Regions from separate parts of the Homo sapiens genome. Here regions 1, 2, 3 and 4 are each linked to region 5. The links are contacts of gene promoters, found by promoter capture Hi-C in blood cells and fetal thymus (Javierre and others, 2016). All regions are on one chromosome and are shown on one strand. Each heading gives the region's core, a stretch centred on a gene start or on the middle of the fragment in contact. The rest is flanking DNA. Distances are from core to core; before and after follow the strand shown. Region 1 overlaps VPS13D (vacuolar protein sorting 13 homolog D). Region 2 overlaps VPS13D (vacuolar protein sorting 13 homolog D). Region 3 overlaps VPS13D (vacuolar protein sorting 13 homolog D). Region 4 overlaps VPS13D (vacuolar protein sorting 13 homolog D). Region 5 holds the start of AADACL4 (arylacetamide deacetylase like 4).

The links. Contacts are between HindIII fragments. The CHiCAGO score rates a contact against its expected background, and 5 or more counts as called.
Region 1: a contact is called between a fragment that was not itself captured here and the fragment with the promoter of AADACL4 in region 5, in 2 of 17 cell types (M0 macrophages and M1 macrophages). The highest score is 6.1, in M0 macrophages.
Region 2: a contact is called between a fragment that was not itself captured here and the fragment with the promoter of AADACL4 in region 5, in 3 of 17 cell types (M1 macrophages, M0 macrophages and naive CD4 T cells). The highest score is 7.8, in M1 macrophages.
Region 3: a fragment that was not itself captured here is called in contact with the fragment with the promoter of AADACL4 in region 5 in 10 of 17 cell types (naive CD4 T cells, total CD8 T cells, M0 macrophages and 7 more); the score reaches 9.9 in naive CD4 T cells.
Region 4: a fragment that was not itself captured here is called in contact with the fragment with the promoter of AADACL4 in region 5 in 9 of 17 cell types (total CD8 T cells, naive CD8 T cells, M2 macrophages and 6 more); the score reaches 10.2 in total CD8 T cells.

What each region holds. Positions count from the first base shown.
Region 1 is chr1:12,449,625-12,454,308 of GRCh38, reverse strand. All of the region lies in intron 65 of VPS13D (vacuolar protein sorting 13 homolog D), which reads right to left. Among named protein-coding and RNA genes, the nearest start is that of SNORA59A, 55 kb to the left of the region's middle. The HindIII fragment of the contact is 734 bases long and covers 1,145-1,878 here.
Region 2 is chr1:12,428,617-12,432,896 of GRCh38, reverse strand. The region is part of intron 65 of VPS13D (vacuolar protein sorting 13 homolog D); the gene reads right to left. Among named protein-coding and RNA genes, the nearest start is that of SNORA59A, 76 kb to the left of the region's middle. The HindIII fragment of the contact is 6,682 bases long and covers 1-4,280 here.
Region 3 is chr1:12,394,776-12,399,013 of GRCh38, reverse strand. All of the region lies in intron 60 of VPS13D (vacuolar protein sorting 13 homolog D), which reads right to left. Among named protein-coding and RNA genes, the nearest start is that of SNORA59A, 110 kb to the left of the region's middle. The HindIII fragment of the contact is 1,918 bases long and covers 593-2,510 here.
Region 4 is chr1:12,412,067-12,416,785 of GRCh38, reverse strand. VPS13D (vacuolar protein sorting 13 homolog D) reads right to left here. Exons shown (of 70, transcript NM_015378.4): 64 at 1,565-1,699; 65 at 1-126. Among named protein-coding and RNA genes, the nearest start is that of SNORA59A, 93 kb to the left of the region's middle. The HindIII fragment of the contact is 5,438 bases long and covers 320-4,719 here.
Region 5 is chr1:12,641,229-12,646,045 of GRCh38, reverse strand. It overlaps AADACL4 (arylacetamide deacetylase like 4), which reads right to left and starts at 1,961. Exons shown (of 4, transcript NM_001013630.2): 1 at 1,332-1,961. The coding sequence starts at 1,499. The HindIII fragment of the contact is 15,531 bases long and covers 1-4,817 here.

The DNA of each region.
Region 1 (4,684 bases), core at 262-2,761, 190 kb after region 5:
CAGAGACCCCATCTGAGAGTTACCACAGTATAGGAGAAGGGCCACAAGCTGGGGCATCTGACCAAACTTCAGTCCTCCCTCGACCATTCTGGTAACTACATGACCCTGAGCGAGGTCACCTACCTCTGAGCCTCCTCTGCATCTGGAGAATAGCCAGAGTACCTACTTTGTCATGTGGCTGGAAGCATTCATGACAATGGCTCGGGGGCCTGGTATCTAGTTAGCATTCTTACTGTTCTTATTACTCTGCTACTAGTCCAAGGAGGAACATGCCTGCAGCGTTTGAGGGAAGCCTGTCAAAGGTTTAGAATTATGGTCATTTGCACTATAGTTTAACATAATAAAATCCTCTCTTTCCAGCAGATAAACACCAGCCTCCCAAGTAAGTTTTTGGAGTGGTACCACTTACAAAATTAGAGTGTTGGACTCTACGATTTCCAAAATCCTTTCCAGCTCTGGCACTGTGTGACCTACAACCCAAGGTAGAATGTCTTTACTAAATACTTCCTCTGAGCCCAGGACAGATTTAGGTACTGCTGAAGAACACAAACAAACAGCAGCCTTGAACCCTGCCCTCAAGAACTGACAGTCTCTTTGAGAAGGTAACAATCGTATACACAAAACAGTCAGCAGGAACCCAGGACACAAACTACACAGAAAGGAAATGTGACCTTTGTTTTGGAAAGAATCAATAAGAGTGCCTGCTATGTTTAGAATTATGTAGGCTGCCAGCGTTCTTCAGGTTCCAGACAAAAACGTGTCTCTCTGGTGCCCCAGACGCTGTGAGAACCACAGTTAAGTGACGCGTGCCCATGTCCTGTGTGTCTCCAGGGGACACATCTCCACCTGAAGAGACCCAGGAGCACCGCAGCCAATTCAGGGTCTTATTCAGGTCTTTCCTGTTTCTCTCAAGCTCTTATATTCTTTCTAAGAGCTTACATTCTCTTTCTTGGAAGACAGATAGGGTAAAGTGCTCTTTACCTATCGCTGGCAGCTAACTAGGAGGAAGTTAAAAATCCTATAATACTCCCCCACCAAGAGAATATGGGAGAATAATCTAGGCAGAATACCCAATATCACTCCCTCTTCTTCTACTCCCATCAATTAATATCCAAAGTTGATGAGTGAGCCTATGCCAAAAGCTTAATTTCCAACTAAGTCTGCTGTGGCAGCCTCAGCTCCCCAGCACCAACTGGGTCCTGGGTGTTCTCTATACAAAGACAATGTATTGACCCAAGGAGGATGGGATGAGATGACCTAAGAGATCACTCTTCCCTCTAATGCTGGATTCTTCCGTAAGATGAAGACCTTTGCCATGGAAAGGTACCTACACCTATCTCAACTTACTGTAGGACTTCTGTCTGAATTCCTGTTTCTCTGTCCATAAAAAATTGCTTATGCAAGCCAACTGGACTTGTCCTTTGCCACTTGTTAACAGTCAACCATTACAAAAGTCTTCACCCCTAGAAATACAGCTTTGAGAACCCAGAAAACTTGAGTAGATGTTGAAATCTATGATCCAACCAAACCTGTATTGATGAGTAGTTAATCAGATTTTACTGGGAAAGACGTTTTACAGAAACTAAACCAAAGCCAGCCAAATGATGGATACAGTGGTAAAGGCAGGGCCCTGGGCCAGTTCACTGCACTCTGAGGATTGAATCCAGGCTACCATAAAGCATGTGGCCTCCTTTTACTATGGAGGCATTTAGTTAGGCATCCTTAATTCTACCCCATTCCCCACCTCAGTGGGAAGGTAAGTCCTGCCCAGCCATTATTTCTCCCTCAAAGACAGCAGAAAACAAGTGGGCTGTGGAGGGAGGGAATTCCAGTGGTGCTCATCATGGGTGCCCTCTGGCCTTGCTCTTCTCTGAAGCTTGGAAGCACTATTTTACCCAGGTCCTTGACTTTGAAGATGGTCATCAAAACAGGGCAGAGATACCCAAAAGAGCTACACCATCATGTAGGGAGTGACTGGCCCAGGCCATCCTTCATGATCCCATCCTCCCACTGTCTTGTGACAAGTAAAGCCTGGAGATAGAGGTCCAGATTATTCAGACGAAGGAAAAATGAGTCCCGATATGAGCAAGTACAAATCCACTACACACCCAGTCAACCAAGCAATCCAACATGTGCAGAAGCCCTACTTGTACGGCAGGCTAGAGACAGAGAATCAGAAATCAGAAGTGGTTTCTGTCTCTTGCCTTCAAGACCTCAGTAGGGAAGTATGGATGTGGCATAATAGAAAGATAATCACACCTGAGTTTGAATTTTGACTGTGACACCCAACAGCTATGAGATCACAGACAAGTAACCTTTGCGGGCCTCTGTTTTCCTCCTTTTCAAAATGGGGATACAAATATTCCCTACAAAGATGCTGTAAGGATTAGGTAATACATGTAAAGCACATAGCACAGAGCCTGATACATATGAGACATTCAATAAAAATAGTATTATGTTATCTAAACTTTGACTTCTTTATATGCAAAATGGGAATAATCAGATTCTGCAGGACTGTCTTGAGGATTCAGGGATAGTGTGCACGTAAAGCATCTGGCATGGCATATCCCCCCAGCAAAGCGGAAGCTATCTGCAGCAGGGCATAACAGCACCAGGGTGTGCTAGGCTTCTAAACTGGGAAAGCGACTAGCAACTGGAAGGTAATCTGCAGACAATTTGTAACTCTTTGGTTATAATACCTTAACACCAGAAGGAGCATTTGCAGAGACTTAAGTCTGCCTACCTCATTTTGTAGCAATCTCAAGTCCACAAAATACTTAAGGCTTCAAGTGCATGTTGTTCTAGCTAAAATGAAAGGTTCCAAGGAACAAAATGTCCTTCAGAAAATCTAGTGTTACACTCACAAAGACAATGATTTTCCCCTTCCTTTCACTTCAACACATGCCATACTTGTGAATTCTGGCCACAGTCCAAAGTCATTAACTTCTATAAAGCAATATTTTCAGCAAGGGGGTAAAAATCTCAGAAGTACTTCAAGATGCCAGTTCTACTGAATAGCTAACACACACTCTGTCAACACCCTCCTTCCCAAAATAATCTCATTGTCTACACAAATGGAGACACTGCAAATTAGCCTGGGTTTGGGGCCTGGCTCCGAAGGGTTGATTTTCTAAAACTGAAATTCAAGTAGACACTGGAATGGGGCAAGGGAAAAAATTCACACTGTGTTCCTCTGTTCTGTCTGATCAGTTTACCTGACCCTTTTATGATCTTCAGCAAGCATGGGGTGCCAAAGGCATTTGGCCAGTGTAACAGGAGCTGGGGCTTGAATTTCTCTCCCTTCTCTTGGGTTCTTCTTTCACAGTTATTTACCTAATGGAAATTTCCTCTTTAATATCTTTGCCTCACTGAGTAATTGCTGGTGGCAGTATCTTCCTTGTCACCAGGGAAGATGGTAACCAAATACAACAGGAAAAGAGAGAAGTGGCAGGACTCCGTAGTGTGATGGAGAAGTTTTATATTCTTCCAAGTACAGATGCTCCTTGACTTATGATGGGATTACGTCCGGGTAAGCCCATTTTTAAGTTGAAAAGGCTTTAAGTAAAAATGAATTTCATACACCTAACATATCTAAACATGCCCGGAACACTTACATTAGCTGACAGCTGGGCGAAGTCATCTGGCAGCAGGGCCCACTGTAGAGTATTTGTTCCCTCTTCATGATCACGTGGCTAACTAGGAGCTGCGGCTGCCCTAGTGCCCAGCACTGCGACAGAATCGGATCACATGTCACCAGCCCAGGAAGATCAAAACTCAAAATCTGAAGTACAGTTTCTACTGAATGCATATAGCTTTTACGTCATCGTCAAGTCAAAAAATTGTAAGTTAAACCACCACAAGTCAGAGACTATACAAGGTTGTACAGCTGCAAACCTCAGCTACCAGCACAGCTCTAATTCTAATCAGCATTGTCTGCAATAAGCTATGTCTGAACTCATAAATTTGGAAAACCCAACTATCTATTGTGCCTCTAAGTAAGGCTGCCATGAACTTTGTGGGAGTTGCCACGATGTAGTCAAACAAGCAGGAGCAAAGGAATCAAATCTTACCCTGACAGTTACCAAACACGCATGCTGGTGGAAGAGGCTTAATTTCTCTGAACCTCAGTTTATCCATCTGCTAAAATCACATACTTTCTACTGTAAGGGATTGCTCTTTTTTTTTGCTGGCTGAGTCTCAGTCTGTTACCCAGGCTGGAGTGCAGTGGTGCGATCACAGCTCACTGCAACCTCCACCTCCTGGGTTCAAGCGGTTCTCATGCCTCAGCCTCCCGTAGCAGGGATTACAGTTGTGTGCCACCACGCCTGGCTAATTTTTGTATTTTTAGTAGAGACAGGGTCTCACCGTGTTGGCCAGGTTGGTCTTGAACTCCTGGCTTCATGTGATCTGCCTACCTCGGCCCCACGAGGTGCTAGGATTACAGGCATAAGCCACCGAGCCTGGCCTGCAAAGGACTGTTTTGAAGAGTTAAGAGAATAATTAATGCAAAATGTTTGGTGTAGCATTTGGCCAACACTTTTTACAAGTTTCTTAGAAGTAGTATGGGACTTTCAATTTCAGAGTCATTTTCAACTCTGCTGGTATACTACTAGGAAAACCATCTTTGAGTCATGTAAGACCTAAGTCACTTCAAAACGAAAGTCTTCACCACTGACTTCCGTTT
Region 2 (4,280 bases), core at 231-2,730, 210 kb after region 5:
GACGCCAGGCACAGTGGCTCATGCCTGTAATCCCAGCACTTTGGGAGGCTGAGGCAGGAGGATCACTTCAGCCCAGGAGTTAGAGACCAGCCTGAGCAACATAGAGAAACCCCATCTCTACGAGAAAAAAAAATTTAGCCAGGTGTGGTGGTGTGCTCCCGTAGTCCCAGCTACTCAGGAGGCCGGGTTGGGAGGATTGCCTGAACCCAAGAAGCAGAGGTTGCAGTGAGACAAGATGGTGCCATTGCACTTCAGCCAGTGAGACTGTCTTAAAAAAAAAAAAAAAAGGGAAAGGATTCAGAAAAGGAAAGGGGTTCAGATCAAAGTGTTCTCATAACGAAGACAAAGCCATCACAAGTTCTTCCAGGGTTGCTGGACAGCAGGCAACTGGACACATCCACATTTTCAGTGTCCACTGAGAGGTACAGCAAACAGCCACTTCTGTCCTAGGGCAAGAACCAGTACTAAAGATGTTTTCGCTCTTTTCTTTTTTTTTTTTTTTGAGACGGAGTTTTGCTCTTGTTGCCCAGGCCGGAGTGCAATGGCACAATCTAGGCTCACAGCAACCTCCGCCTCCCCAGGTTCAAGCGACTCTCCTGCCTCAGCCTTCCAAGTAGCTGGAATTACAGGCATGCACCACCATGCCCATCTAATTTTGTATTTTTAGTAGAGATGGGGTTTCTCCAAGTTAGTCAGGCTAATCTCGAACTCCCGACCTCAGGTTATCCGCCCGCCTCAGCCTCCCAAAGTGCTGGGATTACAGGTGTAAGCCACCGCACCTGGCTTGCTCTTTTCTTTCACACAGCCTTTAGAAAGAACCCGATGACAATTCTAACAACATACAGAGAAAAACATATGAACATTTAGAAAAATTTTAAAATTCATTTTAACCCACAAAGTTAGATTAATTTTGGCATCACCCAAAGACTATGTGTCTATTAAAGTTTCATCTCTACTACATCTCACCACTGCCCACTAAATCTAATTATAAAGGGATTCCCTATTTCTTTCTTTTCATGGGGGCAGGTCTTGTTCTGCTTTCAGGAGAGATGCAAAAGTTTTGCATGGGTTTACTCACTGGGTAAGATTCTGCTGAAGGACTAGTAATAGAAGGTGCTTTAAGGAGCTGTACTACCTGCAGCCCCTTCCGGTAAGTTGACCTTGACACAGAACAGACTGGTTCAGTGCAACAAACCCTTGAGGGCTTCCTAGATCACAGGCTAAGTGCTTAGGGTTAAAGATACCAAGACGAGTATGACTTAGTCCCTTGTACTCATGGAACTCAGTATAGTATGGGAGACAGACACACAAATGGATAAAAAATAAAGAACGCTGAGAAGATATACAGTAGGCAAGGCTTACACCCTACTACTTTTCTCCCCCTCACTCCTACCAAGCAGGTGCCCACAAGCTGCCGGCCCAGTCTCAACAATCATACTAGATCTGTAGCCAGAAAGCCTGGGTTTGAGGGCTAGCCCTGTGACTAATTAGCTTTGAGAACCTTACAGGGTCTCAGTTTCTCTACCTATAATTTGAGAGGGCTAAAGGCTGGCCTTAAGGTTCTTTCCCAAATCTGCTATCCAAAGAGTTTCTACTGAATATCAGCGATTGTGTTAAGAGTCTGCATCTGGGAAAAGCTATTGTAGCTTTGCCATATTCAGCTGGAATAACTAAGAAAAGTTTTAGTGTTGACACATCTCTTAGGAAGAATACAAGATGGGGTTAAATAGGCAAAAGTTAGAGAGTTTAAATTATCATATGAAATATTATTAAAACTAGGCTTCTCACCAAATTCAATTTTTTAACATAAGTTAGACACAGTTCACTGTTATGTTTTTACCTTTTACAGAGAAACAAGTGGCAAATTCTTCCTGTGTTTAGTCCTAACAACTTTTATCTCTCCATATAATTTATTTGTTGAGGCACCTCAGTTTGTCACGTTAATTGATTTCTAAGCAACTCTTCTGTAGCAATCCTACAACTTTCACTTGCTAATTCTACTGGACACAAAATCCAAACAGGCTGGTAAAATCTATCTGGCTTTGCCCCCTTTTGCTTTGTTTCTTAGTGATCGTAGGACTGGAGATTTGCATGACCCGCTGAGACTATAGAACCAAGCATTCACACAATCTGGCGTGGGTGCTAGGAAAGCAAGGCCCTCTTGGAAGCAAGATGTTTCACAGCTGTCTTCAAGGCATCAGAAGCTCCTCTGGCTCTCCTCTGAGAAGGCTTAGTGTGGTAGGAAAAGAGTGGGCTCAGTGTTTGTGAAGCCTGGGCACCATCCCCTGGTTCCAACACTGACTGCACGGTCTTGGCAAAACCATTTAACCTGTGTAACTTAATTTCCCATCACTGGAAGGGAAATGATAATCATACCTAACCTGCTGGCCCCACTGGGATGTTGCAAGGTTAAATTATCTCACAGACGTGAAAGTGCTTTAATTCCTGAAGGAGGAAAGAGTGCTTTCTAGAGCAGCAGTATGGTCTTTGAAAAGAGCTTGGGGCTGTAAAGAGCCTGGTCCTCTTCCACAAACTCCCTGTTTGACCCTCCAGAAGTTAATTACCTTCACTGTGACTCAATTTCTTTATCCGTCAAATGGGGATAAACTTGACTCTTTAATGCATAAGTTTGTGAAGATCAAATAGTAACAGGAGGACGCTACAAAGGTTGAATTGCTATAAAACTACAAGGAGCCATGAGTGCCTCCTCTTTTATAACTAACTTTGGCATGATCCTTGCTCATTTCCAAGTTACCAATAAAGAGAAAATTACCTCAATGGCCACAATATCCTGCTTTGAACATTACAATGGCAACAAAACTGAGACAAGGGGCTGTTTGGGAAGCATGTTCTGCTTAATTTTCACTTCAGTGAAAACAATTAAGGTTTCCAAACCAATGTTTTATTATATAAATTCAACAGCTTGCAGGAAATGTTTACTTCAAACATTTTCCTGGAATAAAGCAAATATTTCCCATAAATATTATTTTAATTCATTAGATTAAAAGGGACTAGGTTTTCTTCTCCTTCCTCTAAACCAGCTTCCTGCTACCTTAAGCGAAGCCTGGGTCCAATCAATAGTGCCCACCTGGCTTCATGAGAGCCAGGTCAGTATCTGCTAAGCGCTTGCTGTGCCCCAGTGCTGTGCTAGACCTGAGGCATGGGGAAGGGAGGAGAAGAAATAGGATCCTAAAAGTCAATGTCCTTTTCCTGTCTGTATTGCTATAGTACGATTTTGGCTATTCACCAGCTTACAGATATGTTTGGGGGGAAACTTGTAAATAAACTTTTAAAAAGTTTGTATGGGCTAAGTGCAGTGGCTCACGCCTGTAATGCCAGCACTTTGGGAGGCCGAGGTGGGTGGATCAGCTGAGGTCAAGAGTTTGAGACAAGCTGGCCAACATGGCGAAACCCCATCTCTACTAAAACTGTAAAAATTAGCCTGGCATGGTGGTGGGTGCCTGTAATCCCAGCTACTTGGGAGGCTGAGGCAGGAGAATCACTTGAACCTAGGCGGCAGAGGTTGCAGTGGGCTGAAATCACACCACTGCACTCCAGCCTGGGTGACAAGAGTGAAACTCCATCTCAAAAAGAGAAAAAAAAAAAGGTTTGTTTGTTTCCATAAAAAAAGAAAATAGCTAGACAATAACACATTCATTGAATGTACAGCATGTGAAAAATGCTATGCCAGATAAAAGACAGCCCACATGGATACAACCTGGATCACTTTAATTTTCCTTACAATAACTATTTATGGCTAGAGGGGAGACTGGCAAAAAAAAAAAAAAAGTTGTCAGATAAAATCCTGGCCCCCCTCCACAGGGTCTACTCTGGGATGCAAATAAATACAGACCGTTGCATTCCATCTTTTGTCTCCAGCCAATCTCATCCTTGAGGAACACAATCAAGTGTTCTTACCCCTGGCCCCACAGCACTTCTCTCATGGAACTGTGCAGTTTGCACAGACCCCACTGCAATACTTATTTCCTCTGGATTATCATTACTTACTCCTTCTCTGCCTTACCTGTTCCACATCCTCACAAAAAGAAGAAAACATTTTCTAAGTCTTCCTTTCTAACATTCTTTCACAGCGCCCAGCACCTAATTGGTGATGTGAGAAATGTTGACGGATATCAGAGATGTGTGCACAAATGGTTACACTTCAAGGTAAAATCTGGTGCCTGCTGTAATGGAAGCACACGGGGCCATGGGAACTCACAGTGGGGAGAGATCACATTCTTAACATGGCAAGTGGACTGGGCCTTACAGACTTGGAGCCT
Region 3 (4,238 bases), core at 302-2,801, 250 kb after region 5:
TATGACAACTTCATGAGCTCTGTCCTTATATCACAGAGGAAGAAGCTGAGAAGAGAGGCCCTTGCTTCAGGTCACACTGCTGGTCAGTGGCAAAACTAGAACTTGAATCTCGGTCTGTCTGACCCCAAGGCCAGCACTCCTAAACACTATGCTATCGATGCTTCTCTCTTGCTCCAAATTCCTTCAAGACAATTTAAATTAGAGAACCAGGAGCTCAAATGGCTACCAAATTGTAACAGTTTCCTCTACTAAGGTCAACTCCCTTCTCGGGAACGAAACGATTAAGTCAGCGGCATTAGGGTTGACTCTATTTACACAGCCCTGATCAGTATCAGTGCCATCACAGAGGACACTTGCCACACTCAGACATGCATGGATGTCTAGAGGCTCCTTGCAGGAAGCAGCCATCTTCCTGTTCTGTCTCACATCGAAGTTCACCACCAGGAAGAGGAAAGAGGACAGACCATCTTTTTGGGTACCCCTAAGAGACCATCTGCAGGTACTTTCCACACACCCCCTATCATATCACTTCCTAAACCCCTAAAGGCTAGGTATTATTCCTCCTCATTTTACAAACAAGTAGACAGAAGCTTAATGAAGTTAAATTATGTTGGCAACAGAACGAGACTCCGTCTCAAAAAAAAAAAAAAGAAAAAAAAGTTAAACTACTTGCCCTCATTCGCACAGCTTGTAAGTGGAAGAGGTGGGATACAAATGCAGAGATTTCTGGCACCGAATCCTCTGACCTCTCCATTGTATTGCAGGGATTTCCAAATAGACATTTCTGTACAACTGGAAATGACTTTTCTTCTGTTTGTTCTCAGGGCAGGGATAAGGGCAAGAGACTTGGAGTATTTTTTCCTACTTCCATTCCTTCCTCCTACAATGTATTCTCTATATAGCAGCCAAAGTGATCTTTCAGTAAACTATAAATCGAGTCATACACACCCTTCCTTTACACTATTCAGTGGTTTCCCTTTCTCTTAGGATAAACCAGACTTCTCACCACAGCCTCTAAGGCCTGCATGAACTGGCACCAAATTCTCCAGCTTCATCACACACCACTCTTTCAGGTTCCCTACCATCCTCACCTGAGCCTCCTTATTGTTTCTAAAATGTGGGCAAGTCCTTCCTTCCTCAGGGTCTCTGAATTGCCTGAAATGGTTTCTAGTGACCATCTCTATGGTTTGCTCATTCTATTCCTCCAAGTTTCAGTTCAGCTCTCATTTCCTCAGGAAGATCTTCCTGAGCCACTTTTTCTAAAGTAGCACTTTATCTAAAGTAGCTATTCTTTACAGCAGTTATCACAGAATGTCATTATTCATTTGCTTGCCTGCCTGCATATTTATTGGCAGACTTTCTCTCTAGGCTGTTGGCTCAAGAGCAAAGCCTGCATTTTTGAAGTCATAGCCATATCTCCAGAACCTAGTACAGTGTCGGGCACACACTTGATGCTCAGTAAGAATGGACTGAATGAATGAATCATTACCTATCTCATCCAAATATGAAATGGCAATAAAGGGCTCGACCATATTGTCTTCTCCTTTGTTCTTTCACTAAACACATCTGACACAAGGCGTCGTAACTGAGAATTACTAACTCTACCTAGTTTTATTCTCCTAATTAGATCGGATGCTGCCTAAGGAGAGGATCTCTATTTTCTATTTTTAAAAATTCCTTCTTGCAGCACTGTAACCACAGTAAAGTACAAACCTGATTATTTTCTATGATTTGCAGCATACATCACATAAAGAGGTATTATAGGAAAAAACAACTTTTTGGCCAGGCGTGGTGGCTCACGCCTGTAATCCCAGCACTCTGCGAGGCCAAGGTGTGCAGATCACCTGAGGTCAGGAGTTCAAGACCAGCCTGGCCAACATGGCGAAACCCCATCTCTACTAAAAACTACGAAAATTGCTGGGCGTGGTGGCGGGCACCTGTAATCCCATCTATTTGGGAGGCTGAAGCTGGAGGATCACTTGAACCTGGGAGGCGGAGGTTGCAGTAAGCAGAGATCGTACCACTGCACTCCAGCCTGGGCGACAGAGTGAGACTCCATCTCAAAATAAACAAACAAATAAACAAACAAACAACTTTTTAAAGTAAAGAATAAAGTTAAGGAAACTAATGAACAGCAAATGGTTCCTTGAATTGTCTCTGTAAGGTCGAAAAAAGGAGGACAAGGAAAAATAGCTGCAAGATATTAACTTTCTATCTGTGCACAAATAAATAGGATACGATTAGCCTGAATTCTCTGTTATTCGTGATATATAATAAAAGAAAAATTTCTTCTGAAAAGAGGTTCTGGCCTCGACAATCTGGATGGAATCGCATGACATGTTAAGGGAGAGAAGGAGCCCCAGTCATGGGAGACACATTGCACACACTCCCAGTAAGGATGTAGTTCGTCCATTTGGGAAAAAGAACCACAGTCTGGGGCTTTGGATTCTTCTTCTGGAAATGTCTACCAGGAACTAGTTTCCTGAACATATTTAAACTTTGATGAAGCTTATAAAGGAAAAGCGTTCCAAGTATGATGTTACAAACAGATAGAAGTTGTTCTGATAGCACACTAACAGTACTCTGCCAAAAATTGTAAAGGTCGACTTTTTCAGAACTCCGAAAGTTAATAAAAAACTTGCGACAATCTAAGGAGCATTTACTCAAGAAAACAAGCTGAAACTCAGTGAGAACAGCGAGCTCTGTGGCATTTTAATTTGTCCTATTCTCTTCACCCCTACCCCAGCTCCACAGTAGCCTTGAAAACCAACGGCCCTACAGTCACACTGCAAACAAAGCAGTCCTAGCAGACACTCCAGCAGCCAGAAGGAATTTGCAGCTCCCCCAGGAGTCCCATCCCCAGACTTGTCAGTATTTGGCTTGTCTGGCATCTCTCTCTTTCCTGATATTAATAATCTATGTCTTCTCTTTTTCTCCTGCTCAGACTGGTTAGAGGCTTATTAATTTTATTGATCTTAAAGAACTATATATATATATATATATATATATATATATATCTCCTATTAGTTCTATCCCTCTAAGAGAACCCTGACTAATACAGATTTTGGTACCAGGTGTGGTTCTAGAGGAACAGAATATTAAGGATGGAGTTCTTTCATTGGCTTTGGGGTTTCTGGAGTTGGCTGCTGAATATGATTAGCCCCCCAAAAAATTGCTAAGGACTCTACCTCTAATAGTATGGAGAATGCTGATAGTCCTTGGCGTGAACCGTTTGGAGAATTATGCAAAATAAATGCATTTGACACTCCTGATTCACCGCTCATGAGAGGCAAGGATTTTAGTGACTCTATACATAATACCTTTGACCATATGTAGAAAACCAAGTAACATAATGAAGCTGGTTGGTTGCTCCTAAGTTCAGTGGACAAAGTAATGAAAGAAAATGATGAACTCAGGGATTCTGTCTCCCAGCTTCAGAAGCAGATACTGAGCCTCAAATCTGCTAAGATTGCCCTAAGTGAGAGTCTTATCTCCTGCAGAGAAAGAGCTGAAATTGTGGAAAAACAGACACAAGCTCTTGTCATGCAAGTGGCTGACCTGCAATGAAAGATGCACGCCGAAAGATGCACACACAGCCTCACCAGATGTCTGCTGTTAAAGTGAGGGCAATGATTGGAAAAGAATGGGACCCTGCAACTTGGAATGGGGATGTGTGGGAGGACCCTGATGAAACTCGGGGAAACTGAGTTTGTAAACTCTGATGAGCCTTTTTTGCCAGAAGGATGAGCTTCCCCATCCCCAGTAGTGGCAACATCTCCTCAACCCATGCTGTCATCAGCTTTCCACCTTTGTCTGAGGAGATGAATCCTATGCTGCCTAAGGCAACAGTGATGACCTCTCTTGAGGCAGCTGCCAGGCAAAGTAATGTTGATTCTCCTCAGGAGTCACCCCCAACACCCCTGTTTGCTTCTAGACCTAAAGTCCCGGCAGGCCCCTAGATGTGAGGTTGAGAGTGTGACTCACGAGGAGGTGTACTACACTCGAAAAGAACTGTTTGAGTTCTCTAATTTATATAGAAAGAAATCTGGAGAACAGATACGGGAATGGATATTAAGGGTATGGGATAATAGTGGAAGGAACATAGGGTTGGATCAGGATTTATTGATCTGGGCCCACTAAGTAGGCATTCTGCTTTTAATGTTGCAGCTTGGAGAGGTAAAAAAGGTTCTAATAGTTTATTTACTTGGTTAGCTGAAATATGGATTAAAAGATGGCCC
Region 4 (4,719 bases), core at 1,789-4,288, 230 kb after region 5:
GAGGCCCCCGACATTTCCATATTTTATCAGTCCAGTAACCCCTTCAGAAACATCATTCAAAAGCCCCATAGGATTGCCAAGAAAATCCACTGATCCCAGGATTCGAGCTGCCTGGCTGAGGAGTTCCTGCCAAATGGAACAGGAAGAGAAAAGTCCAATCAGCATCTACTTATATTTGCAGATACCAGTGTCCCAAGCGAAGAGCTTAGAAATCTATTTTGTTCTCCATTCTCATTACTACAAGTAACGAGATTAAAAGCTTTTAATCTTCATCAACTGCAAAATAATCTCCTGTCCTTTCAGGAGCACCACCTAAGCTTCTCCCAATACACATATCCCAATACACATACTCTTCCAAGCCAGTTAGAAGAATAAAAATAGCTATGAAACAGGAAGCATTCTTATGAGTATTTGCTACTATATACATCATACTCTCCTTTTCATCATGCCTACAAATAGAGAAGTAATCACCAGCAGGGAGAATTACAAAAGGAAAGTGAGGAAGAGAGGTAGATTTACAGTTCCTCTCATAAGCTGTGGTGTGGGTGGGGGGCCTGAAGAAGGCATGGAGAGACTTATCAAGCAAACCTCCACTGTTTCTTTCTCTGAAGCAGGGTCTCAGTCACACAGGCTGAGGTGAGGTGGCATCACCGTGGCTCACTGCAGCCTTGACCTCCTGGGCTCAAGCAGTCCTCCTACCTCAGCCTCCCGTAGCTGGGACTACAGGCAAGACCTCTACAACCAGCTAATCTTTTTTTTCTATATTTTGTAGAGATGGGGTCTCAATATGTTGCCTAGGCTGGTCTTGAACTCCTGAGCTCAAGTGATCCTCCTGCCTTGGCCTCCCACCAAGTACTCGGATTACAGGTGTGAGCCACCATGACTGGCCCCTCCACTCTTTCTGTACTTCCAATTGCCTGATCCCAGGTTCCAGTGATATCTGCTGTATCACTTTCCTTAGTTAGGTGGAAATATCACCAATTAGGATAGTCAAAAAAGGAAACGGGGAATGGAGAAAAGGAAGTGAGAATAAAATATATTTTAACTTTGAAAGCTATTAAATTTGATACGATCTTGACCTATCTATTCATTGAAGATTATGCCTTGCCTTTACTTTTTGATCTTTGCAGTCTGGATAATAAATACAAAATGGAAAATGTCCAAGGTGATTTAAAAAATTTCAAGTTCAACCCAAATGCAGGATCCCACAGACTCTAAGAACATGGGTGTAGTTGCTGAAAGAAGGCCCATGCCTGGTAAATAAAAACATTATTTTGTTATTATTAAAGCATCAACTAAACCATTAAGAGTCATGATTAATCTAGCAGGAACCCCTCAGACTAGCTCTGAGGGATGAAACTAACAGCTCATAGGTCAAATGTACTATCTCAGGATTTTCATGACACATACGGGCTTCTTGGGAAGTGACCTGACCCGTAACACAACAGAGTTGAAATGTTTAACTGGGTTCTCAATAGTAATGCCTTAGTAACCAAAATTCCCAAACAACTAAAACAAACATTCTGCTTATGCTCCAGCCAATGATTACTTCTCCAAGCCTCACCTCCTGGAAATGTTTGAGGATATCATTGATGATGAACTCCTTGGTCTCATAGGGATGTACCCGAGTGAATGGATCTAGATTAATCACAGCGTCTTCAAACCGTATCAAAGGAAACCCCAAGGTGCTTTTTAGGGCCTAATTAGGGAAGAAAGGAAATGACATACTTAAGTCATATGATGGCCTTCTGTGATACTATAATTCTAGATTCCATTAAAGCTACAAGTCATGTTAACTTTCGAATGAGGGTCAGGTTTTGATGTTTATAAATAAGGATTTTCCCTATAACTATAAAAGTAAAATACTAGGGAAAAATACATATATAGACAGACATATATCACCCAAGTCACATGTATCACACAGAAATAAACACTATCAGTTTGTGTCATAATTCCTTTTAGTCTGTTTTGTATCTGTTTGTCATGTTTTACTTTTTGACTGATGTAAACCACACACACAGAAAAGTATACTAATCAAATGTATAGTTCAAAACCCAAATGATTTTTCCCAAAGTGAACACAATAATGTAACCACCACCAGATCAGAAAGCAGACTGTTATCCCCATCTTGGAAGCAGCCCACTCACCATGAGCATGCTCCCACTCCCTCCTCCTTCCTCCCCAAAGACAACCACAGTGATGACATCTATCACTACAGGTAAGTTCTTCTGCTTTAAACTGCATATAAATGGAATCATCAGTATGCACTTCGTTGTAGGTGGCTTCTCATAGACAACATTACATATGGGGGTTTCCTAGATTGTTGCATATAGCTGTAGTTTGTTAACGTCCATTGCCATATAAATACTCCATTGCAAGAATAAAACAATGTATTTAACCACCATTGTTGATGAAAAGTTCAAAAGTTGGGTTGTTTCAGGCTTTTTGATATTATGAATAATGCTGCTATAAACAACATTAGACATGTCTATGGCAGACTAGATAACAGGTTCTCACTCTGTTGTCCTGGCTGGAATGCAGTGGCACAATCACAGCTCACTGCGGCCTTGACCTCCTGGGCTCACGCGATCCTCCCACCTCAGCCTCCTTAGCAGGTGAGGCTACATGTGCAAACTACCATGCCCAGCTAATTTTTGTATTTTTTGTAGAGAAGGGTTTTCACCATGTTGCCCAGGCTGGTCTCAAACACCTGGGCTCAAGCAATCCGCCTGCCTTGGCATCCCAAAGTGCTGCGATTACAGCTGTGAACCACTGCTCCCTGCCTAGCTATGTCTTTTGGGGCACATTTATGCATTTTTCTTGGACATATACCTGGGAGTGGAACTGGGTCATAAAGAATGTACATGCACAATCTTAATATATTCTGCCAAACAGTTTTCCAAAGTGGTCAAACCAGTTTATGCTCCATTCAGCAGTCTACAAGATCCCTTGCTATTCTACACCCTCATCAACACTTGGTATAGATCGTTTAAAAAAAAAAAAAAAGATATTCTGGCTAGGAGTGGTGGCTCATGCCTGTAATCCCAGCACTTTGGGAAGCTGAGGTGGGAGGATCGCTTGAGGCCAGAAGTTCAAGACCAGCCTGGGTGAAGAAGTAAGACCTTGTCTCTACAAAAAGTTTAAAAATTAACTGGGCATGGTGGCGTGCGCCTGTAGTCTCAGCCATTCAGGAGGCTGGAGGAGGAGGATCACTTGGACTTTGAAGGTCAAGGCCACACTAAGCTGAGATCATGCCACTGTACTTAGCCTGGGTGACAGAGTAAGACCCTGCCTCACTCTTTCTTTCTCAAAAACAGAAAACAAAGTCTCTGTTGCCCAGGCTGGAGTACAGTGGCGGGATCTTGGCTCACTGCAGCCTGGACCTCCTGGGCTCAAGTGATCCTCCTGCCTCAGCCTCCCCCTACAGGTACATACCACCACGCCCAGCTGATTTTTTTTTTTTTTATTTTGGAGAGACAGGGTCTCACTTTGTTGCTCAACTCCTGGCCTCAAGTGATCCACCCATCTCAGCCTCCCAAAGTGCTGGGATTACCGTGGCTGACCCTGTCACTTAAAACAAACAACGACCAAAAACAAAAACAAACAAACAAACAAAAAAACACCCAGAAAATCTGAACAGTGTGTAATGGTATCTCAGCATAGTTTTGACAGATAAACTGATGGGTGTGTAATGGTACCTCAGCGTAGTCTCTTTTCAGTTGAGAAGTGAGATTAAGCAACTTTTAAATGCATAAGCCATTTGGATATCTTTTTGTGAAGTGCTTATTGAAGTATTTTGCTCATTTTTGTAGTGAGTTCATGTTTTTTATTTCTTACTGCTTTGTAGGAGTTCTTATATATTCTGTATACCAAGTCCTCTGTTGAACAGATGTGTTGCAAATATCTTCTTCCATTCTGTGACTTATCTTACTACTCTTTAAATGGTGTCTTTTAATGATCAGACAGTCTTAATTTTAAGGAAATCTGCCTTATCAATATTTTCTTATATGGTAAGAGCTTTCTGTGTCCTGGTTAAGAAATTTTTGTCTACACCAAGGTCATAAAGATATTCCCACGTTTACTTATACAAGTTTTATTGTTTTACTCTTCACACCTAGATTTTATTTATGCTCCACCTAGAATTTATTTTTATGTACGGTAGGAGGGAGTGGCCAAGATTCATTTTTTTCTGATAAATATTGAACTAAGTAATATTTACTGAAAAGGTCATCCGTTCCACTACCGCAGTATGGCATAAATGCTGTCAAAAGTCACGTGATGGTATTATACATCCATTTCTGGATTCTCTCTTCTGTTTCACTTTGCTCTGCTTTCTACTAATGCCACACTGTCTTAATTACTGTAGTCTTGTAATAATTTCTGAAATCGAATAGTGTAAGCTCTCCCCAACTTTGTACTTTTTCTCCAGGGTTACCTTAGCTGCTCTTTGCGCTTTTCAACTGCAGAGAAATTTTAGAATCAGCTTGTCAATTTGCTTCCAAAAAAACTGCTGGAATTTTCATCAGGACTGTACTGAATCTACAGATCAATTTGAGGAGCAACGACAACTTTACCGAATCTTCCAACTTATCGACATGGTATGTCCCTTCATCTATGTGGGTCTTTAATTTTTCACAATAATGTTTAATTGTTTTCTGTGTAGAGGTCTTATACGTCTTTGGTTGGGTTTATTCTTAGATACTGTGGTAGATTTAAAAT
Region 5 (4,817 bases), core at 712-3,211:
CCAAATCCACTGCAACTCTGGGTGCATGCTGGTCCACCCCAAACCCCCAATCCCCAAGCCCTGCTCAGAGCCTGGCTGGCACGGCCACTCAGAAATGCTGGGTAAATTCATGTATACCAACAAAAGTAAGCACCTACCAGATACCAGGCTCTGTGAGTGGGACTGGGCTTACAGAGATGAATAAGGAAAAAAACACCTGTGAAGCTAGGTGCAGTGGCTCACACCTGCAATCCCTACACTTTGGGAGGCCAAGGCGGGCAGATTGCTTGAGCCCAGGAGTTCTAGACCAGCCTGGGCAACATAGCGAAACCCTGTCTCTACCAAAAGTACAAAAATTAGCCGGGCATGGTGGTGCGCACCTGTAGTCCCAGCTACTTGGGAGGCTGAGATGGAAAGGATCGCTTGAGCCCAGGAGGTTGAGGCTGCACTGAGCCATGATTGCACCACTGCACTCCAGCCTGGGCAACAGAGCAAGACCCCGTCTCAAAAAAGTAAAATAAAATAGAAACAACCTATAGGTAAGTCAGTGCACTGAGGGTGAAAGTGTGCGCGGCTGAAGGAGGGGCAGGGGCTGTCAGGCCACAAGCCCGGGGAAGGCAGGAACTGGGTCTGAAATTGTTTTTGAATTCTCAGAAAAGAGCCCAGTGATTGGCACTCGGTAAATGTTTGATGCTAAAGGAAGAAAGGAAGGGAGTTAGAGAGAGCAGGAGAGAGGAAGGAAGAACGGAACAAAAGGAGGGAAGGAAGGAAGGTAGGAAGGAAACAAGGAAGGAAGGGAGGGAGGGAGGGAGGGAGGGAGGAGGGAAGGAAGAAAGGAGATAGGGAGGAAGGAAGAAGGGAAAGAAGAAAGGAAGGAGGGAGGGAAGGAAGGAGATAGGAAGAGAGAGAATGAAGGAAGGAGGGAAGGAGGAAGGAAGGAGGGAGGGAGAGAAAGAAAGAAGGAAAAAGGAAGGAAAGGAGCGGAGAAGGAGGGAAGGAAGGAAGGGAGGGAGGGAATGAAGGAGATAGGGAGGAAGGGAGAGAATGAGGGAAGGAGGAAGGAGAGGGAAGGAGGGAAGGAAAGAAGGAAAAAAGAAAGGAAAGGAGGGAGAGAAGGAGGGAAGGAAGGGAGGGAGAGAGGAAGAAAGGCAGGCAGGCTATGGGAAGGGGGAAGGAACGGAGGGAGGGAAGAGAGAGGCAAACAGAATAGCAGATACAGAAGAGACAAGTCTATCTTGAGGGAGTCCGAAGAGAGAGAGACAGAAGGGAAGTGAAAGAGGGAAAAGAGGGTAAGGTACTGAGAACAAGAGAAGAAGCCCCCAGGTTACGACGTGGCCTGAGAGTAAACTCACCAAAGTGACCAGGTAGAGGAATATGCAATGCAGGAATCTCAACTTGGCAGGATGCTGCAAGGTAGCAGGGATATCCGTGGTGAGGAAGTGCTCAAAGACAGCCCAGACAAAGACCCCCAGGAAAAAGATGGGCAATGCCAAGAGTAGCACTAGCCAGGGGACAGCCATGTTCCTGGGGCCTTGAGGAGCTGCTGCCCTGAGGAGCTTGTCTGATAGCTTATGTGAAGAGGACCTGGCTGGGTTACACCCTCCGCCTCCTCCACCTCACTCTCTCTGGGCTAAGCCTGACACCTGACACAGTGGCCTGACACAGCTTCTCAGGGTAAGCACAAAAAGGCCAATGGGAGGTGGAGGAACCTATTTCCCTAAGCAATGTGGGGACCCAGAAAAATCAATACTGCTCATCATGGGGAGTCTTGGAAGGTGAGCTTCCCAAAGATTTCAGGAAGATCAGGCTCAGATGGGCACCTCGGCTCCTGGGAACCCTAGAAAGAGATCTCATATGGGTTATATAGGCCTCCAGGGCCTGATCTTTCAACTGTAAGATAAGAGACTTCGCCAGCTTTCCTTGTCAGAGTGTGGTTAGGGTGAGCACAGCACGTCTCACCCCAGCTCCCTAGCTAGCTTCCCTAACCCCAGTTTTGTTTTGTTTTTTGAAACAAGGTCTCACTCTGTCACCGCCTATGTACCCTCTGGGCCTCTGGCCAGATCAGGGCAAAGACTGGCGTGTTTTCTGGTAGTCATAATCTTCTGGGGTCCTGGGACGGGAGACAGGAATGCCATTGCAGGCAAAACTGGGCTTTATCCAGCCTCATATTCCGCCTCTAAAAATGGTGCCAAGGGCTGGTTTGGGGACAATTTTTATCCACGTTACTTTCTTCTAAGAGAGAAAGAAATGATTGGAACCATTTCAGGAAATAGGCTTTGAGCCTGAAAATTTTAGAAATTTTAATTTGGGCCGAGCACGGTGGTAATCCCACCTGTAATCTCAGCACTTTGGGAGGCTGAGCTGGGAGGATCACTTGAGGCCAGGAGTTCAAGACCAGCCTGGCCAACAGGGTGAAACCCCCTCTCTACCAAAACTACAAAAATTAGCCGGGCATGGTGGCACATGCCTGTAATCCCAGCTACTCGGGAGGCTGAAGCTGGAGAATCGCTTGAACCTGGGAGCTGGAGGTTGCAGTGAGCCGAGATCGCACTACTGCACTCCAGCCTGGGCAACAGAACGAGACTCTGTCTCAAAAAAAAAAAAAAAAAAAAAAAAAAGGGAGAATATAGAAACTATACATATAAGAAAATACCACTACCCTTAGGGCTTAAATAGAGCACCCAAGAAAGACCCCGTTTCCACCCATAGGGATGAGACCCAGCTCTTGTTGGAAAGGGCATAGTGTGAATTTGCTGAACTGGCAAAGAAGTTGCTCAACTGCTACACCAGGGGGACTCACTGGTGTCTTCCTCTTGACACACACACTCAACAAATTTGCTGAAAATCTGCTCCCTTGGGTGCTAGGGAAAGCCATTTATTCACAGGGAGGTGTTTTACTGGAGGCACTCTGAAGTGAAACCACCCAAGGGGACTGGAAGGGAAAGTTATTAACCTCCGAGTGCTGCAGGAGCTTGGAACTAGAAGGCAGACCCCCTTTTTCATTCCTATTATTTATGTTTTAGGTTTTTGGTTTTTTGTTTGTTTGTTTGGTTTGTTTCAGAAAACAAAAGTTATAGAAGAGGCTTTACCCCAGTGAGTATATGCATGGCAGATTTTTGTGTTTTTACGTCATTGTATCTTTGTAAGAGTTTACTTAGGTTTCTCTTAGAGGGTTATAAGATTCACTATTCTGGCTAGGTGTAATTATCTTTTGTCGTTGTTGTTTGTTTGTTTGTTTTTTGTTTTTTTTTTTGAGATGGAGTCTCGCTCTGTCACCCAGGCTGGAGTGCAGTGGTGTGATCTCAGCTCACTGCAAGCTCCGCCTCCCAGGTTCACGCCATTCTCCTGCCTCAGCCTCCGGAGTAACTGGGACTACAGGCGCCCCCCACCACGCCCGGCTAATTTTTTTGTATTTTTAGTAGAGACGGGGTTTCACCACGTCAGCCAGGATGGTCTCGATCTCCAGACCTCGTGATCCACCCATCTCAGCCTCCCAAAGTGCTGGGATTACAGGTGTGAGCCACCATGCCCGGCCAGGTGTAATTATCTTTTTAAAACTCATGACAAATAATGTAATTTTTGGTTTCTTAAGCATGTTTATGGATACCCCTGAAGATAGCACACACGGGAGGAGCTTGGCCTGGAAAAGCAGATAGCGCAATTACTGCCCCCAGAGCATTTTTGAAAACAGTAGGACAATTAGCCTGCAGTTAGTGGAGGCTAATAGTTGGGTGTGAGACCAACAGAGGCACAGAGCTTAACAGAGAGATCAGGGAAGGAGAAAGTCAAGACAGCCCTGTGGAAAACACTGCATTCTTAGGGTGACTGTACACAGGACCAAGGCTGCACCACCTGAGGTGTGATATTAGAAGCTGCACACTGCAAAGGAAATAGACTTTACTGAAATAGCTTATCCACATCATTAAACAAATAAAGAAGGTCAGAACACAGGGGCTCGTGCCTGTAATCCCAGCACTTTGGGAGGCTAAAGCAGTGAATCATTTGAGCTCAGGAGTTCAACACCAGCCTGGGCAACATGGTGAAACCCCATTTCTATGAAAATAAAAATTAAAAAAATAGTGCATCTGGCACAGTGGCTCAGGCCTGTAATCCCAGCACTTTGAGAGGCCAAGGCGGGCAAGGTCAGGAGATCAAGACCATCCTGGCTAACATGGTGCAACCCCGTCTCTACTAAAAATACAAAATATTAGCCAGGCGTGGTGGTGGGCACCTGTAGTCCCAGCTACTCGGGAGGCTGAGGCAGGAGAATGGTATGAACCCAGGAGGCAGAGCTTGCAGTGAGCTGAGATTGCGCCACGGCACTCCAGCCTGGGTGACAGAGCGAGACTCCATCTTAAAAAAAAAAAAAAAAAACATAGTGCATGCTTGTAGTCCCAGCTACTTGAGTGGCTGAAGTGGGAGGATCACTTGAGCAGGGGAGGTCAAGGCTGCAGTGAGCTATGATCACACCATGGCACTCCAGCCTGGGCAACAGAGTGAGACCCTGTCTCAAAAAAGAAAACAAACAAATAAATAAGTAAACAACATAAGCGATAAGCTCAGGGAGAACTGGGGGGAGGGATTAGTATCCAGAGTTGCTACAATGTAGTATCCAAAATCTCTAATCTTCCACAAAAAATGAGACATGCAAAGAAACAGAAAAGTATAACCTATACAAAGAAAAAACATCAGTGACAGAAGTTGCCTTTGAGAGGGCCCAGATGTCAGAGTTAACAAAGCCTTTAAAGCAGCTATTATAAATATGTTCAAAGAACTAAAGAAAATAATGTTTAATGAAGTAAAAGAAGAATATAATGACAATGTTTCATCAAATAGAA